Linked DNA regions of Homo sapiens: regions 2 and 3 are each linked to region 1. Evidence: promoter capture Hi-C in 16 types of primary human blood cells and fetal thymus (Javierre and others, 2016). All regions are on one chromosome and are shown on one strand. Each heading gives the region's core, a stretch centred on a gene start or on the middle of the fragment in contact. The rest is flanking DNA. Distances are from core to core; before and after follow the strand shown.

What was found. The method cuts DNA at HindIII sites, captures the fragments that hold promoters and counts their contacts. A CHiCAGO score of 5 or more calls a contact.
Region 2: the fragment with the promoter of SEPTIN4-AS1 here is called in contact with the fragment with the promoter of COIL in region 1 in 1 of 17 cell types (neutrophils); the score reaches 7.2 in neutrophils.
Region 3: the fragment with the promoter of SUPT4H1 here is called in contact with the fragment with the promoter of COIL in region 1 in 2 of 17 cell types (neutrophils and total CD8 T cells); the score reaches 7.0 in neutrophils.

Annotation. Positions count from the first base shown.
Region 1 is chr17:56,959,781-56,962,315 of GRCh38, forward strand. COIL (coilin) reads right to left here and starts at 1,270. Exons shown (of 7, transcript NM_004645.3): 1 at 995-1,270. The coding sequence starts at 1,239. LOC105371836 (a long non-coding RNA gene) reads left to right here and starts at 1,368. Exons shown (of 4, transcript XR_934875.4): 1 at 1,368-1,632. RefSeq lists a silencer at 872-981 and enhancers at 1,108-1,402, 1,152-1,291, 1,302-1,351. The HindIII fragment of the contact is 13,699 bases long and covers 1-2,535 here.
Region 2 is chr17:58,518,573-58,521,107 of GRCh38, forward strand. It overlaps SEPTIN4-AS1 (SEPTIN4 antisense RNA 1), which reads left to right and starts at 1,265. Exons shown (of 5, transcript NR_110810.1): 1 at 1,265-1,405. SEPTIN4 (septin 4) reads right to left here. Exons shown (of 14, transcript NM_001368771.2): 12 at 2,426-2,535; 13 at 2,171-2,270; 14 at 1,684-1,913. The coding sequence ends at 1,854. It also overlaps a transcript of MTMR4 not described here. RefSeq lists enhancers at 1-569, 1-16. The HindIII fragment of the contact is 4,387 bases long and covers 1-2,192 here.
Region 3 is chr17:58,350,939-58,353,473 of GRCh38, forward strand. It overlaps SUPT4H1 (SPT4 homolog, DSIF elongation factor subunit), which reads right to left and starts at 1,263. Exons shown (of 5, transcript NM_003168.3): 1 at 1,129-1,263; 2 at 464-570. The coding sequence starts at 1,197. It overlaps TSPOAP1-AS1 (TSPOAP1, SUPT4H1 and RNF43 antisense RNA 1), which reads left to right. Exons shown (of 5, transcript NR_038410.1): 4 at 806-976; 5 at 1,061-2,535. It also overlaps a transcript of RNF43 not described here. RefSeq lists silencers at 837-946, 1,227-1,656 and an enhancer at 2,044-2,535. The HindIII fragment of the contact is 2,691 bases long and covers 720-2,535 here.

The DNA.
Region 1 (2,535 bases), core at 20-2,519:
ACAGAGTCGCACAGTGCCTAGCTAAGCGCGGATGTGCTAAATCAAGGCTGAAAGAAAGCCTGGCCCTGCCCTTAGGCATCAGGGATTTTCCAAGTTTGATTCTCCTGTCATCAGAAGCATCCCGGGAAGGATGCTCGTTACACTGCAGATTCCAGCCAGGCGCGGAGGCTCACGCCTGTAATCCCAGCACTTTGGGAAGCCGGGAGGATCACTTAACGTCAGGAGTTCAAGACCAGCCTGGCCAACACGGTGAAACCCCGTCTCTACTAAAAATACAAACAAACAAACAAAAAATTAGCCGGGCATGGTGGCGCCCGCCTGTAAGCCCAGCTACTCGGGAGGCTGAGGTGGGAGGATCGATTGAACCCGGGAGGTGGAGGCTGCAGTGAGCTGAGATCGCGCCACTGCACTCCAGCCTGGGTGACAGAATGAGACTCAGTCTCAAAAATAAAAATAATAGGGGCAGGATGCGGTGGTGCACGCCTGCAATCCCAGCACTTTGAGAGGCCGATGCAAGCGGATCAACTGAGGTCAGGAGTTCGAGACCACCTTGACCAATATGGTGAAACCCCATCTCTACTAAAAATACAAAAATTAGCCGGGCGTGGTGGCGGACGCCTGTAGTCCCAGCTACTCGGGAGGCTGAGGCAGGAAAATTGCTTGAACCCGGGAGGTGGAGGTTGCAGTGAACCGAGATCGCGCCACTGTACTCCAGCCTGGGTGACAAAGCAGGACTCCGTCTCAAAAAAAAAAAAATAATAATAAAAAATAATAATAAAATGCAGATTCCTGAGCCCCAAAGTTGACTACACCAATCAGGATCTCCGGGGTTCGCGAACGTGCATTTTTACAGCCCCACCCCCCTCCAACCCTCGTCCCCTTCCCCATCCCCCATCCCCTCCACTACCAGGTCTAGCGGCTTCAGGCCCGGGCGTGCGCAGGCGCGTCCCCCGCCCGCCGCCCACCCGGCCGTCCCGCTCCCTGCGCCGCGCACCTGAGGCAGTCGTTGTCTCTCACAAGGCGCGCGCTCTCGGCGGGGGGCAAGAGCCCCCCCTCCAGGTAGAGGCCTAGGAAGGCCCCAGAACTGAAGCCGAAGCGCTGGCGGATGAGACTAATGAGATCTGTGACGACTCGGCATCTGTTCAAGTCGACCAGAAGCCAGAAGGCCGTACAGTGCGGGGTAGCTGGCGGCGGGTAATCAAATTGAAGCCGTAGCCTAACCGTCTCGGAAGCTGCCATCTTGCTTGGTGCTCAACGGAAGCCGAGAGATACCACGGGGCCACCGAGAGGCGTGCTCGGGCGGCTCGCCCCCGCCGGAGCCTTTGGCGTGTGCCACCTAGTGGTGAAACCTGGCTACTACAGGCTGCGTCTAGGCGAGAACTCGGAGCGTGGTTGATTTCATTCAATTTTGTTCACGGCAGGGCTGAGGAAGGGAATAAGTGAAATGCCTTTATTACATTTCTACTGGGCGCTATGTAGGGTCTCCTAATTAAGGCAACTCTCTGGATAAATAACATTTCTCCTCAGCAGTAGTCTTCTAAGATATTTGCTCATCGACGTGAAAGATTTTTATAAAACAATCCTAACACATTTCGCTGACAAAATTTTTCATCATGATGAGTTGAAAAAGATGTAAGTCCTAGTGTGTTCTCAATGTTGAAATTTTGAAATAACACTGTTAATCATTCTTCCAAATGTATCCAGTGGAATATAAATACCTTAGCCTTTTAATACCCACCACCAAACAAAAATGTCCTTGCATTTCTCACCAGATAAATAAATCAGTATTTACATTATTTCTTCTATTTTTTGAACTAGAATTTACATTTCTCCACATAATATATATTAACTCCTTTAATTTTCATAACAAAAGTTAGGAATTATGAACTGTTATCCTTATTTAGAGGATTTAAAAAAAACAAGGTTCAGAGAGTTTAAGAAGTAACTAGAGGCCAGGAGCAGTGGCTGACGCCTGTAATCCCAGCACTTTGAGAGGCCAAGGTGGGCGGATCACTTGAGACCAGGAGTCTGAGACCACCCTGGCCAAAATGGTGAAACCCCAACTCTACTAAAAATATAAAGATTAGCCGGGTGTGGTGGCATGTGCCTATAATTCCAGCTACTCGGGAGACTGAAGCAGTAGAATCGCTTGAACCCAAGAGGTGGAGGTTGCAGTGAGTCAGGATCGTGCCACTGCACTCCAGCCTGGGCAATAGAGCAAGATTCTGTCTTAAAAAAAAAAAAAGGAGTAACTTCCCCAAGTTCACTAGACTAGTTAAGTTGTAGATACCAGGGAGTCAGTAGATGAATTGAAAACAAAATTTTTTAACTGAAAGTAAGGGTTTTTGGATTTTCTTTTTTTAGAGTCTTGCTCTGTCACCTAGGCTGGAGTGCCGTGGTGCACTCTGCCTCCCGGGTTCAAGTGACTTCCCACCTCAGCCTTCCTAGTAGCTGGAACCACAGGTGTGAGCCACCAAGCCCAGCTAATTTTTGTATTTTTTGTAGAGATAGGGTTTTTCCATGGTGGCCAGGCTG
Region 2 (2,535 bases), core at 15-2,514, 1.6 Mb after region 1:
CTGGCAGTCCTGAGTGAAGAACTCTCCTCTCATCCCAGAGATGGGAAACCTGGATCTGAGACTGCCAGCTAGCTGCGGCCTCCTAGTCTGTAAAGCGAAGGGAGACCAGGACGCTCCCAAGGACCCGGCTTATCGCCCCTCCCTTTCCTTCCCGGGGACCCAGAACAGACCACAAGACGGAGGGTGGCCGCTGGAGGTCGCCGTGGCCCCGCGATACCACCAACCGACAGAAATGGAGAACAGTTGATTCAGATTCAGCTGATATTCTCAGGTCTGGAGCGGGCCTGAGCGCTTTAATTAGCCCGGGGCTAATGTCCTCACCCATCTTTGTTTATAGAACGTTGAAACTCCAGTACTGTTGGTAAGTTCCAGGAAGACAGGAACTTTGCACTACTTGAACTCCAGGGTCTAGAACAGCCTGCAATCTAGCAGATGCTGTAAATTTTTTAATTAAATACTGAACTCCTGTAGGACGGTGATTGTGTTTTTATTCATTCCCAGCACTTACTATAGTGTTTGGTGATTACAATGGCTGCAGCATTTGTTCAAAGCTCTATCACAGGCTTTCTACAGTGTAGAGCTTAACCTGCCTATCCCTTTTCCCAGATCAGGGGAAACAGAAAGTCAGGAGGTTGCACGCAGTTAATACCTTGTGTTTTCCCAAGGGCAGGTATCAAATACAAAACTGCGTCCGCCGCAGCTGGAATACGCACAGGCATCAAAATGGGGCCTTTTGGGCCGGGCGCGGTGGCTCATGCCTGTAATCCCAGCACCTTGGGGGGCCGAGGCGGGCGGATCTCAAGGTCAGGAGATCGAGGTCATCCTGGCTAACACGGTGAAACCCCGTCTCTACTAAAAATACAAAAAATTAGTCGGGCGTGGTGGCGGGCGCCTGTAGTCCCAGCTACGGAGTCTTGTAGTCCCAGCTACGGAGCTTGCAGTGAGCCGAGATAGCGCCGTTGCACTCCAGCCTGGGCGACAGAGCGAGACTCCGCCTCAAAAAAAAAAAGGGCAGGGGGGACTTTTGGACAGTCCTTTAATATTGGGGAAGTGCCCCAAATTTCTTTTTCTTTTTATTTTTCTTTTTTTTTTTTGAGACGGAGTCTCGCCCTGTCACCCAGGCTGGAGTGCAGTGGCGCCATCTCAGCTCACTTCAAGCTCCGCCTCCCGGGTTCAGCCATTCTCCTGCCTCAGCCTCCCGAGTAGCTGGGACTACAGGCGCCCGCCACCACGCCCGGCTATTTTGTATTTTTAGTAGAGACAGGGTTTCACTTTCTCCTTAGCCAGGAGAAGTGCCCCAAATTTCTAATCCCTTAAGCCAGGACCTTGGTAGCCCTGAGGTGTGATGGGAGACTCTGGACAGAACCACCTGTTGACCTATCCAGGACCCAAATATGCACCACAGGTAGGAATCTTTTTATTACCAAAGGTACTGTATGTGTGAAAGATGGAGAGAGACCCAGACCCCAGATAACAGAGGCATGATAGATATGATCGTCAAGATGGAGAAGCCAGGCTGGATTCTAAGCAGGGACTTAGAAGGGGAAAGGAAGTGGAAAGTTTTCCCCACTCTCCCTTCCCTACTAAAAGCCAGAAACCAACATCTTCTACCATTAGCCTTTCAAAACTGGGTCCCAGGATCTTGATCTCCAGGTCATAAAAATACACACAGGGACACCAGAAGCCACCTACAGATTTATTAAACTTTATTTCCTCTGAGTCTCTGGGCAGTCAGCAGGGATGTAAGGCGAAGTGGCAGTAGCTGAAGGGGCCTGAGCAGAGCTGGTGCTGGGAGGGGCCGGCATGGACAGGAAGAAGAGGAGGAGATTTAAATATCCAGGGCTGAAAGCCAGTTAATAGTTCTCCTTCATCTGTTTTTGTATTTTGTGTAGCATCTCCTGCATCCGCCGCAGCTGGAATAGGCACAGGCATCAAAATGGGGACTTTTGGAGAGTCCTTTAGTATTGGGAAAGTGCCCCAAATTTCTAATCCCTTAAGCCAGAACCTTGGTAGCCGTGAGGTGTGATGGAGACTCTGGACAGAACCACCTATTGACCTATCCAGGACCCAAATATGCACCAGAGCCAGGGATCTTTCTATTACCAAACAAAGAGATACCAACGTTGGTGATCAAACAGGAGACCTCCCCTATACCCCATACTGCTCTCACCTCCTCATCTTTCTCTCGGATAAGCTTCTCAGTTTCTGGATCTGTCCCTGGTGGGACAGCAGGGATGGGGAAGTCGGTACCACTTTCCCGAGTCAGTTTGCTAAAGGGAGAAAAGGGTTGATAAGGCGAGGAGGACCCCAGCACCCGCTTAGATTGAGCCCAGGGCCTATAGAAGAACAAAAGTAGGGCTTGGTCTCACCCAAGGCTAGGCTTGGGATCTCCCCCTGCCAGCTTTGTCCTGGCTTCTGGTCATACTTGCGATTCCGTTCCTTCACCACCAGGCGGGTCATGCTCTGGATGCACTGTGCCCGGTAGTTCTCATAATGTGTCTCCCGTGTCACATCCTTCAGGTCCTGCATGTGGGT
Region 3 (2,535 bases), core at 13-2,512, 1.4 Mb after region 1:
AACATTATTAAGATTACATTCTTTCTTCTCATGTTAAGTCTTTGAAATCTGGGGTATATTTTATACTTAAAAGCATGTCTTAATTTGGACTAGACACATTTCAAGTGCTCAGTAGCTACACGTGGATAGTGGTCACTGTATTAGATGCATAGCACTAGTATGTCCCAAAATAACTGTTGAGGCTGGACACAGTGGCTTACACCTATAATCCCAGCACTCTGGGAGGTTGAAGTCAGAGGATCATTCCACGCTGCAGTGAGCTATGATCATGCCACTGCACTCCAGCCTGAGCCACAGAGCAAAACCCTGATTCAAAAAAAAAAAAAAAAAAAAAAACCCACACAAAATAACCCCCAAAAACGAATGGCTGGGCCCAACTAGGATTAACACTTGCCCTGCATTTACTTCTCTGGGTGCAGGTTGGGTAATGCAGAAGTGAATGATGGAAACTGAAGCGGCTTACCCATCAAAGGAAGAGCTAGTGCAGTCATATACCATCTCTCGGTTACCCTTCATTTGTAGATATGCATCACAATTGTCACAACCATCATATTCAAACTGGTCTATAGTCTGGGAGTGAAAGAAAAATAAAGGAAAAGGAGAGATAAGCATGAACAAGACCAAGAGAAAAAGTAGCTTTCTCAATACTTCGACCTGCTCAATTTCTTGTTTCCCTATGTTGACTGTGTATCCTAAGGTTCCCCACCTACTACTCTCAAAGCTTCATTCCTAAGTCCCACCCTCCCACTCCTTCCTCTCTCGTTCCCAATTCCGTTTTATCTATTCCTTTCTCTAGTCTACTCAGGGTCAGGCATCCTTTCCGACTACTCACTCAGCAGCGGATCCCCACCCGCCTCTGACTCCCAGTGTCTTTCGGCTCCAACGTAAGTTCACCGAACGTCTAAGAGCTGAGGATTCAAAGGCATGTAAGACCGCCCCTGCCCTCAGCTGCAAGACCTGTCCGCGATCCTACGAGGTAAACGATGGCCTCCTTCGGCTTCTCACTCCCCCTGCCACCTCTGAGTTCTGAGACTTAACTTTTCTCTTTACTGTCCCACAGCCCCATTCCGCCCTCTTTCCCCGACCTTGGTCCCCCATGGGCCCTACAACCAGGTCCCCGACTGACACCTTGACCAGCGAACACAGCAAACAGGCCCGCAGATGCCGCAGGTCCTTCGGCACCGTCTCCAGGGCCATCTTCGCCGATGGGAAGAACAACAGGGAGATAGACGACCACAGCCTGTGCACCCGCAGGAAGTAAATAGCTCGTTACCCAGAATGCCCACCACTTCCGGCGCTTAGACTTCCTCTTCCGGTGTGGGCGGACGCCAGCTCCGCCCCTACCCCCGCCAGAGGAGATGGTTTCTCCCGCCAGCAGGCGGGGAGGCTGGGCGGCCGGCCGCCACCTGGGCCGGAGCGCGTCGCAGCCACCTGAGCCCGCCGAGGGCGCGGCGGAGGCTGTGTGGGGTAGTCAGCGGGCCCCCGGGGCGGGGGGGCGGCTGCGCTTGCGCGGGAGTGTGTCGGGCTGAGCCGCAGCGCCGAGACGCGGGCTGTTTGATCTGGGCTGGTGGCCCTGGGCGTCGGTCCTGTTCCCCGATGGTAACCCGAAGTTTGTTTTTTTTTGTTTTGTCTCCCCGTTTTAGAAGCATTGGGGGCAGTGAATCCACTGTCTCCCTCTGGATTGTCTCTGCAGAGACCGAGAAGAAATCCAGGGACAGCCCCACCCCTCCTTCCTAACTGCGAGAGCGCTATAGGGTTTCCACTTGCTTCCCACAGGAATGCTGGCCTGGGAGCTACGGCGGAAAAAAATGCGTATTTATCTTTTAAAACTCCGTCTGTTTGCTCGTTCCGGCTGATAATTTATACTTTGCGCAGTTCTTAGCGCTTAGACACGGTTCCTTTACTAAAGACCATTTGTAGGAGATTAGGTGTCCTTTTTTTCCCTTTCATTTCACCGTCTAGGAAGCGAAATGCCTTGTTCTATAGGCACTAAACCACCACCCCTACCAAACCTTTCTCGGGGAAGCAGAAGGGGAACTTGTGCCTTGTGAGGAAGCGACAAAGGCCCCTTCTGGCCCTGGAGACTTCACGCCAATGGAGCACCAGCTCTCTGTCCTCGCAATAGCCCGAGTGCAGGCAGAACGCAGTCATTTGTGTTTATCTGAGAGGAGCTTTGGGATATAAATAGTTTCAGGCCCCGCTGCGCTGTCATTCCAGCCCAGCCTCCTGATTGAGCTGCTTCCGGGCGGGCTTTCTTCTTGTTGGCGGTCCCATGCTGTGTTCAGATGGGCTCTGTGACAGGTTTGGATGTTTTCTATCACTGAATAAAACTTTCCACTTTGGAACATATTTTCTACACTCTATTATCTCATGTAAGTCCTGCAACAACTATTAAGTAGGCCCATTTTATGGACTGAAAAAGCGAGGCACAGAGTATTTGCCCAAGGTCTGAGTCACTGAAGTATGATAATGTGTGAAGTGAACAGTATAATAATAATGACTGAAGCACAGTAAGAATCCAGTCATGCTTTCTCC